Regions from separate parts of the Homo sapiens genome. Here all the other regions are linked to region 1. The links are contacts of gene promoters, found by promoter capture Hi-C in human tissues and cell types (Jung and others, 2019). All regions are on one chromosome and are shown on one strand. Each heading gives the region's core, a stretch centred on a gene start or on the middle of the fragment in contact. The rest is flanking DNA. Distances are from core to core; before and after follow the strand shown.

Region 1 (4,503 bases), core at 600-3,099:
GACAACTGACACCTGTCACTGAGCCTGGCAGGTGGCGTGTTCTTCATTTCTTGCATGGCCATCTGGCTGTCAGACACTACCCAGTGAGAGGCTCAACCCTCGTCCTGCTCCACCCCAGCCCCACCCTGCTGTCATCTATGGCCCCTTCCCCCACCCTCAGGTGCCTCTTTGACTTTTGACCTCTGCCCTCAGCAGTGTCATTTCATGAAACCCAGGCCCTGGACAGCCAGCATCAAGCAACTGGCAACCTTCCCTACTGCCGCCCCTGAGACCTCCGCCCTAGGGATAGGGGCTTTGTTTTCTTCCCTAATTCCCTTTGGATTGGCTCCAGCAACCAGCAAGTTACCAGGCAGCAGCACCTCAGCTTTGGGCGGAGTCTTCAAAGAGCAGACCCAGCAGTTGTATGTGGATCCCAGCTGCACAGACCCTCTCCTGCAGAGGCAGAGGCCGCCTGCCACAGGCCACGCGGAGCAGGGTCCCACCATGGCCCTGAGCATCTTGACTGAGCAGTTCTGCATCCCAAGGCCTCACAAGGTGACTATGGAATGGCAATGCTAGCCCTGGGGGTAAGCTTAGGGCAAGTCCGATCAGCCCACTCGCCTCCGTAAGCCGTGGGTTCCTGTGATCCGCACACAAGCGGCTGGTGCTGCTATCCCCAGGAGGATACCCACCAACTTGTCTAACGGGGTGGGCAAGGCCAGGGCTGAGACGGGAAGGGGTCTGGCTTGTTGTGGGCAGAGCACCTGCATGCTGTGCCGTTCCCCCTTCAGGTGCTGGAAGGAGCCTTCCTGGGCCGCTCGCCCTCCGCAGCCCTGCTGGGAGGTCTTGCAGACGCCCATGATAGCCAGGCTTGCGGCCTCCCGAATGCAACTGCAGCGTGAAACCGTAGAAACACACGTGTCAGTGGCAGTTCTGCCTGGGGAGGAGCCCAGGGCTCTCTGCGGAGGGTCAGTTCTGTCCCTGTTAAGGTTCTGTGTGGAAAAGACTCCACGCCCTCTTGGGGTCTACCTACATCTGGGGATGCCCGAGCCCAGCTCCCAGTTTTTCTGGTCATTTGGGGACATACCATAGGAAGGACCTGCAGTGCACCTCAGGCTTGGACACTAGGGATGCAAACGCCCTGGGGCCAGCCCTGGGCCCACACCCAATTTAGGGTCTACAGGCAGGGAGCCAGGGGCCAGGGGAGGACTTCTCAGCTCCCAAGGGGATGCTGTTTAGGGGAATTAGAATGTCTTTTATATACAAGAGAACTGAGGGGTCTAAAAAGGTCTCTGGGGGGTAGAAGAAGGTGAGGAGAAAACACAGGAAGAAATGCACATGAGGGGAGGTTCTTGTCAAAAGGGTCCTGAGAAAGACGTACAGTTAGAGTGTGACTGAGGGTCCTTCTTAGCACATAAGGGGCAGGGACAACGGGCTCAGATGTCTGGGGCTCCTCTTGTGTTCTGATGGCTCCTGAGACGGGGAGAAACGGCGACAGTTTCCTGGGTTCAGGAAGGGAGAGGAGGCGCCTCGCACCCTGGCTAGGGTGGGCTGGGGGCCTGCACCCCTAAGTTGGAGAACCCCACGAAGCTGACCCCACTCACCGCTGCCCACCCCGCCAAGCCTCCTGGCCATTTTCAGCGGAGTGTCCCGACCTCTGGCCGCCCGGGTGGGTGTGAGCCCCGGAGCGCGCGCGGGGGGTTGGGGGATGAGGAGAAGCGGCAGCCGGTGGGGGGCAGCCCCTGGGCGCCCGCTCCGCGCGGCGATTCGGCCCGGGTTTTGCGGCCGCCGCGCCTCCTCCTCCCGCCTCCGGGCTCCCTGGGCCTCCTCCCTCCGCCGCGCCCTCGCTCCGCCTCGCGCGGGGGGACCATCTGCTGGCATTTCCTGCAGCCAGGCCCGCGCCGCCAGTGGAGCCCCCGCGCGCCCGGCCGGCCCGGAGCACCGAGCTCGCGGCACGGTAGGAGGTAGGAGCGCGGCGGCCCGGGGGGCGGCAGGGCGGCGGGGGGATGGCGGGCTGGGAAGGATCCGGAGGGCCCCGCCGGGCAGGGCCGGAGCGAACCGAGGGCCGCGGGGGGCCGGCCGAAGGGATCCAGGAGCTCGCGCCGCAGCCCCGCGGACCCTGGCAGTAGCCAGTGCGGGGAACCACGCCGCGGGGCCGGTCGCGCGCTGGGGAGCTGGGGAGCGCGGGAGCCTGGGGGCGCCCCGGGCCAGGACGGGTCGGCGCCTGGCGGGTTGGGGCGGGTGGGGCCCGCGAGTGGGAAGCGGCGCGCCCAGCTCGGCTCCCCACTTGGTGGGGCTTAAAGGAGCCGGGACCGCCAGGGAAGGTGGCTGGGTCTGACCACCACAAACCCTGGCCAATCAGGGGGTCTGTCCCCCCAGCTCGGCCGACGCGGGCTCCAAGGAGCCAGGTCTTGATGGGTCTGCAGGGGGTCTGGGATCTGAGTCTGGCGTCCCAGCTGCGGGCTTGGGAGGACTGCTGTGTCTGAGTCCGCAGAGTCAGGGGGCTGCCTGGATTACAGGCTAGGGAAGGACCTTGCCCACAGCCCCCATCTCTGGGGCACTGACCCCCTGAAGATGTGGAGCCTTAGGGATTGTTGAGGTGCCTGAGTCCTCAAGAGGGTCTTGTGCACTTGAAGATTCCTCCCGGGGAGCGGGGTGCAGGAGGGTGGGGCAGGCAGGAAGGAGGCTGGAGTCTGCAGCCCCCCGGGCAACAGGCCCGTCCTGGGCTTCCCAGGCACCGCCCCCAACCCCCACCCAGACCGCTGGGCTGCCTCCTGTCAGAAGCCAACTGGAGTTAGGGTTTGGGGTGACTCCTGGGGGTATGGAGGGGTCACAGGGTGGGCTTACCTGCCCCTCCCTCGTCCCTGGGCTGAGCCCAGCCCCTCCCTCATCCTTGGGCTGAGCGGGTCTGCCCCGCCGAAGCGGCTGGGTGGATTTCCTCTCTTGCCGTTTCGCAACTTGCTCCCCTCTGTGTGTCTGCCCCAGTCTCTTCAAGGTGCCTTTTACAGGAAGACTTCTGTAAGGGTCCCACCCCACCTGATACAGCCTCCCAAAGCCTGGAGAAGTGGGCCAGCCTTTGGGATCCTAGATAGATGCTCTTGGGTCTGCCTGCACCAGGGCTGATCCAGATCCCAGACTGAACAGAAACTCTGCTCCCCAACCCCAGGAGTAAGGCCCCTCTGCACGTTTTTATCCCACCTCCTTGGTACACAGGGCCTTGCTGTTCCTTGAACCTGCCAGGTGAGTGGGGGCTTTGCAGGCATCGGGCAGGTTTGTGGCAACCTGGGGTGGCATCATGTGCCCAGCTGCTCCCTTCTGGTCTCAGGCTCCAGAACTGCAGATCCTATTGTCTGCCTGCACGCGTGTGGGGCTGGCCTGGGGTGCCAGGAGGCAGGCACCGCGTGTGTCTGTCTTGCCAGGCTGTGTTTAAGAAAGGTGACACAGCAGATAGGCCGGATGAGGAGCCTCTGACCTGCAGTCCTGGGCCTGGTCTCAGAGAGGCTGCCCTGCAGATGTCGAACCCCGGGCAGCCATCCTGCATGTCCAGTGGAGGCTCCTTTCTGGGTCCAGATTGGGCCATGAATAGGCCATGTTCTTCAAAGGACTGCTTTCAGCTCTTTACAGAATACCAACGCAAGACCGCCCCCCCCACCCAACCCCTACCCAGGATTGTATTTACTATGCTGAGAATGCCTGGTATCAGTTTCTCTCCTGAGATCCTGGCCTCACTCTGAGCGCTGATAGTAATCTGACATGTAACGCTTGGGGGAGGGAGAAACACTCTGTGACAAGCCGGCGGGTGGAAGGGCTGTGTGTGTCTCTGCCAGCTGTGTTTTGGGGACTGGTGCTCTCTGCTGATTCTGTGGTTAAGCCTGCACACGTTTGCACACATACAGGCACAGTGTGCAGGTGGAAAACTTACCCAAGATGACAGAAGGTGCCCCCCGCCCCCATTCCCATTTATTGTTCAAGGGACAGGTGAATCTGAGCCTGTGACCGCAGCTGAGAAATGTTGTGGACCCAGCTCAGGGTTCTCCCGGAGAGGCCTGGGGAGCTGGAAGCTCTGACCTCCGGGACAGGGGGTTGTAGAGGGGCCGAGGCCCAGGGTTGCACAGTGCCAAAAGGATCCCGGTCATTTTGACAGGAAGGGAGCTGTCGGGGAGGGAGCCGTTAGGTGCAGCTCCCCTTGTGGAGTCCAAGGGCCAGGTGGGTAGAAGTGCCCACCACTTGCAGGGTTGGCAGGGGAGCCCAGGGAGTGCACCAGTGTGCTGGGGGGTAGATGTTGGGGGGTACAAGTGAGGGCCACTGGCCTCCCGACAGGGACAGGCATGCTGCCCTGGATGTCCTCATGCTGCTTGTGACCGGCACAAAGGAAAAGAATATTGTTCTCGATGCCAGCTTTGCTTGATGACTTACCGAGCCTGCAGCTTGAGGAGGCAACTGACAGCCTGAGGATGGGGCTCCTGGGCTGGTCAAGATTTTTAAAGGTTTTGGGGCCTTGGTGGCTGGGTCTTGGCCACGGCT
Region 2 (4,503 bases), core at 507-3,006, 210 kb after region 1:
CAGTCCATTATTTTAATTGTGGTGCCTATTTTCTGCAATTAGACTTTGAACCTAGAAGATGCAAATACATACGGTTTGGGGAATGAGAGCAGTCATAAATTTAGATATTACATTTCCTTTTTTTGGAAGATTCCTTTTAGACACTTGGGTTGGGCATACTGGAGATTGTCTGTGAATTCAGCGTGAAGAAGGGAGGCTTTAATTTCTGGAATCACTTTGTGTAGGAAGTTCTCTTAAAACTGATTTAAAAATAATTTTTAGGATAAAAATGGAGTTGATAATGGACTCAAGGGAATTTTTAAGTGTTTTTTTTTTTAGATTCTAAAACTTTTAGGGTATGATGGTTGCACAACTCTAAAATTAACGTACTGAAAGTCATAAAGTTGTACATTTAGAGTGTATGCCTTTTAATGGTATGTAAATCCCATCAGTAAAGCCACTTTTAAAGTAATCAAACACATAATACCAAATGGTAAGTGCTTTGAAAAAAATTGAGGATGGCTGCGGAATAGGTAATGGGGTAGTGAAGGAACAGACAAAATGGACTCCTGTGGTGTGAAGTGAAGGAGGCATTAGCTAGTGAGTCCAGCTCCTTTGTCCTTAAAACTGCAAAGCCAGTCCAGAAGTATGAGTGTTCAGAGTCCTTGTACTATTCATGACTTGGGCCAGAGTGCCCTGGGGAGCATGCTGCTCCAGCATTTAGACACCCAGCCATGCTCCTAACCCATGTCTAAAACCCCTGGGTGATGCTGGCACACCGAGGCTTGGGAACTCTGCCTCACTCATGGGTGGTGTTTACGCACCCAACATTCATGTCTCAGCAGCAAACAGCAAGTGCTGCCAGGGTTGTGGTCGCTTAATGGGAAGGGAGACTCAGAGAGGAGAGCCCAGTGAAGATTGAAAAGGCAGGTATGAGACTAAGCAGAGTAAACATTCAACTCCTGATGAAGCTCAGGGTCTTGTAGTAAATGTTTCTAAAATCAGGGGGTTGGATCTTCTACCAGTTGAACGTTGCACAGCTTCATTGAGTGTGGTTAGAAGTCCCTATCTGTCTTGGTGGGCTTAGCTCGTCTGAGCATCAGCTTTCGCTGAGGAATTGCGCCACTCTACAGGGGCCCCTGGTGGGCATTCCAGCACTCTCCAAACAAACAGAAATGCAGTTTCTGTCTCGCTGATTTGCAGTGCCTTAGTAACACTCACAGCTTATAAGGCTTAAGGACTTTCTCTTTCCTGCACCATCATGTATAGTTCTGCGGGACATGAGTTAAGTTTCCCCATAAAGCACAAATGCACTGAATGGCCACAGCCTGGGGGCTGTTTGCCATTCCTCCTGTTAATATATTAACTCTCTCAAAATGATCTTCTCAAGCTTGAGTGCCAGCCCATGGCACATGATGGAGGAGGAGAAGGGAGGGGGGCATAGAGGCACTCAGGCCAGCTTCAGAAGTGGTGGATGGAGCTTGCAAAGATGTCTGTGAGGAGATGCAAGGCTTTGGGGATTTCTGTTAAACCTCGAGGTGAGAAATGTTACATTTTATCTACCAGCACAGCTTCCTCCTGTGTGGGCTTTAAAATTCTGGGAGTTGTCACTGTAATTTAAATATGTTTTGTCTTTTCTTTTTCTAGCATCCGGGGATGGAGAATCACTGGTAAGATTTGTTGTTAATAGTCTTATTTTCCTGTTGAAGTCTCTCCTGAGTGAATGTCTACTTGTCTACTTGTTAAAAAAAGTCCAGTCCTGGCTGTGTGTGGACTGGGTATGCCAGTGATCTTAATGCTTTGGGAGGCTGAGGTGGGAGGACTGCACGAGTCCAGGAGTTTGAGACCAGCCTGGGCAACATAGCACAACCCCATCTCCACAAAAAATTAAAACCAAATAAATTAGCCAGCCGAACATGGTGGTTCACGCCCGTAATACCAGCACTGTGGGAGGCCAAGGTGGGTGGATCACCAGAGGTCAGGAGTTCAAGACCAGTCTGGTCAACATGGTGAAACCCCGTTTCTGCTTAAAATACCAAAAAAAAAAAAAATTAGTTGGACACGGTGGCAGCGCCTGTAATCTCAGCTACTCAGGAGGCTCAAGCAGGAGAATCACTTGAACCCGAGAGGAGGAGGTTGCAGTGAGCTGAGATTGCACCACCGTATTCCATTGGGCGACAGAGCAAGACTCCGTCTCAAAAGATAAAATAATAAATTAGCTGGACATGGTGGTGCACTGTGTAGTTCCAGGGTCGCTGGGGCCCAGGAGCTTGAGGCTGGAGTGAGCTGTGATTGCACCACTGCCCTCCAACCTGGGTGATAGAATAAGACCCTGTCTCTTAAAAAAAAAAAATCCATTTCTGTTTCCTAAAACTCTGGGATTAATTTGAAATCATTACACATCTAAGTAAAAGTATGTGTTTCATATGTTGATTTCAGTAGCAAATGTGCAGTGCTTTAATACTGCCTGTTTCCCATATGTGAGACTGATACCGCCTACTCTGGGTGAGACCTTTGGACAAGTTGTGGAGCTGTAGGGCCCTCACTTCCCACTTTCTCTGCCATTTTGCTTCAGTAGCTCTTTAAAGCTACTTAAAGTTGTTTTAAAGGGGCTTTGAGTGTCTAGTGGCTGTCCCCCAGCAGTGCAGGAGTTTGGTGTTTTAAGTTAAGTAAATCAAAAGTGAGGGGCTGAGGTTTGGCTGAGGGTGGTGAAGTGAATGTTTTTATCCCATTAAAATGAGTTAACACGTAGGTTTTTCCTCCTCAGGATGAAGATTCTGAATTCACATTAGCCTCTGATTTTGAAATTGGACACTTTTTCCGTGAGCGGATAGTCCCGCGGGCTGTGCTGTACTTCACTGGGGAGGCCATAGAAGATGATGACAATGTATGAGGCTCGGGGAAGGGGGGCTTCCACCTGGGTGCTTATCTCTGTTGGTGCAGAGTGGCCCTGAATTGTGGCTTAGGAAACCCCCATGCCTAATCTTTTTATTACATCATCAGCCAGATATGTAGTCCAAGCTGCTGTCCTTGTTGTGGGGGGAATACGCTTGAAGAGGAGAAGTCTGAGGAACAGAGCAGGAAAAGCAGGTGTCTGTGAAGCAGTTTCAGAGGTGATTGCCAGTTTCCTATGTGAGCCCTGCCTAGTGACTCAACAATATTCTCTCAAAACCTAAGCTTCAGGGAACTTGTGAACACAGGGAATATCTCTTTTATGGAGGTCTGGCCACAACAAACATTTATTGACAGTGGACTTATGCTAGCCTGTGGTTCATCAACCCAAAAGAAATAGAAATTCCTGAACTTCTATCTAATTAGGTAAAAAGGAAAAAAAAGAAACCCGTGCTCCCGAAGAAAACAACAAGATTGCATGTCACTTTCCTTTCTGGGCTTGAGGGAAGCCAGCTCTTCCACAGTCAGAACTTGCGGGTGCACAGCCCAAGTACCGCTTAGAAACTCCCATCCTCACCAAGGCTCAAGCAGCTTCAAGTCTTCTTGATCTGTGGAAAATAAAGTTTTGTTTTATAGACTGTTACTGGAAGTATGTTCTAGATGATACTCTCTTTCTTGTGGAGCTCTTAGGTTTCTTTTCTTAGAAGGTCTGGTCTGTTGGGGCTTCAGACAGGGCGGCAAGAGCTTAGGTGGGTTCAAGGGCCTTAGCCCCCTGTGGCAGTAAAGGCCAACATCTCCTCACACCTCTCCCATTGTACTGAGTTCCACCAGTGGGGAGAATAGGCCAGCGTGCTCTTTATCAGCTGTTAGGTCTTAGACTGTTCATTTAACTTCTAAAACTCAACTTGCTGGCTCATCCCTAGGTTGGGAGGTGATTGCAGGTCAGGGAACATGGACAGTCAGGTAGCTGCCAAGACATAGTTTTACAAATTCTAGACCAGCACTTTCCAGTAGAACTTTCTCTGTTGATGGAACTGTCCTCTGCCTGCTTGGTCCAGTGCAGTAGGACTGACCACTTGAGGACTTGAAATATGGCTGCTGAGACTGAAGAACTGAACATTTCATTTACCTTAGTTTAAATTTAAATAGTGAGCTAAGGGCTAGTGGCTACACATTGGAAAGCTTATCTGAAACTGTTTTGATCATACACCCGTCAGTTTAAAGGACTTGAATATGCATGTGTGCTATTTGCTTACTTATATGCGGTATCTGTACTGCTGGTGAGCACTGTGCCACATTTGCTTATAGTACATGTGCGTTTCATTCACAATACGTTCAGCACAGGTACTACTGATGAGCAGTGTCAGTTAGAGGCTAGAAGTGCCAGCTCAGATTAGACTGCTCAGACTCGCATCCCCATTCTCCCTTTAGTAGCTCCACCACCTCCTTGAGCTTCAGTTTCCTCAGCTGTAAGTAGAGCTCATGGTAAAGACTCTGGTTACTTGTTAAGCCCTTAACATAGCACCTGGCACAGAGCAATGACTCAGTAAGTGTTGGCATAAAGTGTTTTACTAATGTTACTTTCTAGACCGTACCCCAACACTAGAAAGTTGTTGGAGGAGGAGGTGAATG
Region 3 (4,503 bases), core at 1,147-3,646, 210 kb before region 1:
AGGTTTCGGTTAAATTGCTTGTTATTTTATGTTATAAAATAGACAAGGAAGTGGCCAAAATAGATTAAAATTATACAAACCCTGGGATTTAAATTTTGGGGTGGGGGGCAGTTTTAGGAAAAACAGAATTGTAAATACTCTAGTAGCATAGAGAGCAGAATCCTGCGTAGGGCCCTCTCCCTGCCCAGACATGCCCAGACTCTCCTTCTCTGAGTCTCATCCAGGTCTGGCTTCACCCTGGACTCTCCTCCGACAGAGTTAACTACAGAATTAAATCAGAGTTTTGGGTTTAGCTACAGAGTTAAATCAGTTTGGAGTTTAACTACAGAGTTAAATCAGAGTTTGACTCCTGCTGCCTCTCCGGAACTGATACACAGAATTTTCGGAAACCCCAAAGCAGATAAATGGGATCAAAGGACTCTCTATTTTGGAGCCTTAATTTTTCTTTTTTACTAACACCAGCGCTGTTAGAGACATCGTATCCAGCAAGCTCTTTCTCAGTCCTGTGGGTCTAATAGTTGCTTCACAAGCCACAAGAAAGTGAAGATAAACACAACAATGGAAAGTGCCTTTGCACTACACTTCATCCCCTCTGTATCCCTTCCATTGGTCTATCTGGAGCTTTTATCACTACACTTTTAAAACGTTAATGATAGGAAAATAGAAGAGGAACCACAAAGCCTGGTCCCTTCATCTATATCTTGAGAGTTGCAGGACACTTGGTTCCATCACCCAGGGTGTGGTGAGGATTAACTCACATGACGTGAGGTGCCCAGCACAGTGCTGTCACATACATCCGAGCACCCCGTGCCTGCTTAATAAACACTGCATTCATACGTGTGTACACATTGTTTTCCAAATGCAGACAGACTCAGACATTGCTTCCTTCTCCAGCCCTGGAAAACTTTAAAGAGCCAGGAAATAATGTAATCTTTCAGAATAGAGATTGGCTGTCTCCATTTGCACCAGAAGAACTTATGTTGTGGTCAGAGGGTTGGGTGTAAGGGACTGTGCTGGGGCTGCTTTCTTTAGCTGAGTGTTAATGATCACAAGTCTTGGGGGAGCAGCATCACCATTAATGGCAGAACTGTTAAAAAATCCAACCCATGAACCCCTTTGAAATCTTCAGAATCACATGACTTAGAGTGGGGCCAAAATTACCAAAAGATTCATATGCACATTGAAGCTTGAGAAGCAAGGCTTAGCTAAATGGTTCTCAGCCTGGCTTCTAATTAAATCACATGGACAACTCAAAAAAAGGCCCTCACCTTTGCCCTCACAGATTCTGCCTATTGGTTTGGGTGGAAGCACCAGTGCTGTTTAAGTCACATGCATCATGGGATTCTAAGGTGTGGCCAGAATCAGTGATGGGGGGTTTCAGATGCATTTGTACGAGTTGAGCTCAGCCTTGGTTCCAAAGGGAGGTCACAGGGCCTTCTTTGCCTAGGTTTCAGAGGCCAGCTCAGTGCAGCTTATACTCCAATTGCTGAAGCAGAATTGCTGTTGTTTAGCAGGAGAGGGAACCTGAGAGCAGGAAGAGAGAAAGTCACATTTTGATCTCCATGTAGAAGTTTACTGTTCCTGAATCTCTTTTATAAAGAACAGAAAAGCGTGGACTTTTTCTGTATTTCTTGGTCTTTCTGTTGATGGTTGTGGTGGTAGCAGGTGAAGGGGTTGTGCTAACACCTTTAAAGGCATATTCTCACGATGCAGGTGTGATTTGTCCAGAGAATCTTTCCTAAGAGGAAATCCCAGAGAAGCAGGAGAAAGAGAAAGAAATGGCTGGTGCTCAGGTAAATGCATCTCAGGTCAGGGGTTGTGTCCACTTTTGCTCCTGAAATGTCATGTGTTTAGAATTTGGAAACCTTTACTTCTCTACTTGTGGTGTTTCTCCATAGTAAGTTTGTTTCAACTACTTTTTTTTCTTATAATAATGAAGGGTCTCTGAAAATATTTGTTTTCTATATACCAAAGCCGTCTCTCTGTTATCTTCACCTTGACTTCTTATATGCCATGAAGAATTCTTACCATGACTTTATGACCTGCAGTATTAAAAAGTTCACTTCGTGGCACTGAACTTGTGGATACCCAGGATTCCTCTTGAGGATGGGGTGGGTTTTTGGATATCAGCAAAGAAGGGAAATGTGCACTCTTTAGGTTTCATCTGGATGCTCCATAAGCTGCATGCAGAACAGGACTAAGAAAATAAACATTTAAACCAGATGACATTTATCTCTCAGAATAACTCAAAGCATTCTGGAAAAGAGAAAAATGAAAAGACACTTGCTTTTTAGAATGCTAAAGAAAGACTCTTTTAATACACTATTAGAGATTACTGCTGGGCATGGTGGCTCATGCCTATAATCCCAACACTTTGGGAGGCCTAGGTGGGCAGATCGCTTGGGGCCAGGAGTTCGAGACCAGCCTGACCAACATGGTGAAACCCCATCTCTACTAAAAAAATACAAAAATTATCCAAGCGTGGTGGCACATGTGGGTAGTTCCATCTACTCCGGAGGCTGAGGGACGAGAATTGCCTGAACCAGGGAGGCAGAGGTAGCAGTGAGCCGAGATCGCGCCACTGCACTCCAGCCTGGGCTACAGAGTGAGACTCAGTCTCAAGACAAAAGAAAACAGATTACAGAACCTGGGAGATATTTGTCAGAACCTGGGAGATATTTGTCAGAACATAGGAGATATTTATTTGTCAGAACCTGGGAGATATTTATTTGTCAGAACCTGGGAGATATTTGTCAGGACCTGGGAAATATTTGTCAGAACCTGGGAGATATTTGTCAGAACCTGGGAGATATTTATTTGTCTCTTGAACTTTGCATAACACTAAGGTTTCGGTATGATTTGATTCAGATTATAATTGACCTTTTGGCCAATATCACACCAGTAATATGTCCTTCTCTGTGCATTGGCACGTGATAAAAATCTGTCCTATTACAGTTGATATTAGTTTTATTCAGTTGTTTAAAGAGCTCCCTGACAGATTTTCCATTGTGGAGTTTATTTTTTTCTCTTTTAAGTACCTTGAGGAGATTTACTAATTAATGTGCATAAATAATCACATTTAATCTGAAAGGTTTTGCTTCTTAGATTCTTTTTGCATATGCCTTGCTTTAGAAGATGAAGAATCTCATCTCTCTTTATGGTTTAGAAAAACTGGGATAAACCCAAGCTTGCCACTTACAGGATTTTTGACAAAATATTGTCCTTGGGCCCAAAGGACTGGCATCACTGGTGAGCGCGTTAGAAATTCGGAAACTCAGCCTTGACCTCCGATTTCCTGAAGCAAAATCTGCACACTAGTTTATTGGACACATGAAAATTGGAGAGGCAGCTTCTAACTCACCATGACTTTTCTGCCTGCGAAATATACACAGCTTATTCATGTGACGTAAATGTAGCACTCAAAAATGGACATGCCTTTGTTGATGCCCTTAATGTTATACTTGTTATCAACCAGAAAAGTATTGTATATACACTGCTTATGTGGCTCTCAGGCAATTCTCTTTCCTCAGAGTTAGAGAGTATTCTTCTGCTAAGAATTACCTTATTGTATAATTTCAGTCACTTGTGTAAGTCAGAACCAGTTCTCTTCACTCGCTCATTTCACCTCGAATCAAGTATTTGTTATTGTTGTTGTTTCTTCTTCAGACTCTGTTGACGTTCAGGGATGTGGCCATAGAATTCTCCCTGGAGGAGTGGAAATGCCTGGACCTCGCTCAGCAGAATTTGTACAGGGATGTGATGTTGGAGAACTACAGAAACTTGTTCTCCGTTGGTGAGGATAACTTCAATACGTAGTTCCTCCTATGCCCTAAAGAGTTCCTTTCGTTCCTCTGCGGAATGTTTTTTGGGAGTTTCTGCGTTGCATGAATGAGTTTCAGATCCCTGCTTTTAAGAAAAACATGGGGAATAGTTGATGTAAAAAAAAAAAAAATCTTCAAAATGTGGTTCATCTTGACATAAACCTTCCTTTTTTTTCAGCTGATCTGTATCTTTCACTCTAGTGACAATTCCAGAAATTCAGTGGCATGAAATATTGTTGCCCACAACTTAAAGTCAAATTTCCACCACCAATTTTTTATGTCAGCAGTACTGAGTGGTGAAACTAAGAACCCACAGATTTAAAATACTTACTGAATATTCTAAAGGTGATGTCAGGAAGCATAATTTTGGGATTAATTTTCTAGAATCTTATATAATGTTCACTCTACTAAGCACAGTACAAGGTTGATAATTGGAGAATTTCAGCAAGAGTAATGTCACTTTTTTCTAATAAAACAGGTCTCACTGTCTGTAAGCCAGGCCTGATCACCTGCCTGGAGCAACGAAAAGAGCCCTGGAATGTGAAGAGACAGGAGGCAGCAGACGGACATCCAGGTGGGTGGGAATGAACGAAGCAGGTAACCCAGGTGAGAGGTCCAGAGGTCGAGGAGGAAGCCAGACCTTAAAATGTGGTTTGAGAAGCTCTGCCCTAGTGGAGATGGT

Evidence for each region. The method cuts DNA at HindIII sites, captures the fragments that hold promoters and counts their contacts. A contact is called where the count stands out against the background at its distance.
Region 2: a contact is called between a fragment that was not itself captured here and the fragment with the promoter of OSBPL5 in region 1, in 3 of the 25 tissues and cell types used here (adrenal gland, liver and mesendoderm cells).
Region 3: a fragment that was not itself captured here is called in contact with the fragment with the promoter of OSBPL5 in region 1 in 1 of the 25 tissues and cell types used here (mesenchymal stem cells).

What each region holds. Positions count from the first base shown.
Region 1 is chr11:3,162,656-3,167,158 of GRCh38, reverse strand. OSBPL5 (oxysterol binding protein like 5) reads left to right here and starts at 1,849. Exons shown (of 22, transcript NM_020896.4): 1 at 1,849-1,943. RefSeq lists enhancers at 655-1,367, 3,111-3,804. The HindIII fragment of the contact is 28,319 bases long and covers 1-4,503 here.
Region 2 is chr11:2,952,890-2,957,392 of GRCh38, reverse strand. It overlaps NAP1L4 (nucleosome assembly protein 1 like 4), which reads left to right. Exons shown (of 16, transcript NM_005969.4): 11 at 1,627-1,649; 12 at 2,747-2,866. Among named protein-coding and RNA genes, the nearest start is that of SNORA54, 8.8 kb to the left of the region's middle. The HindIII fragment of the contact is 6,881 bases long and covers 1-4,503 here.
Region 3 is chr11:3,370,867-3,375,369 of GRCh38, reverse strand. ZNF195 (zinc finger protein 195) reads left to right here. Exons shown (of 6, transcript NM_001130520.3): 2 at 3,667-3,793; 3 at 4,300-4,395. Among named protein-coding and RNA genes, the nearest start is that of ZNF195, 6.0 kb to the left of the region's middle. The HindIII fragment of the contact is 4,685 bases long and covers 54-4,503 here.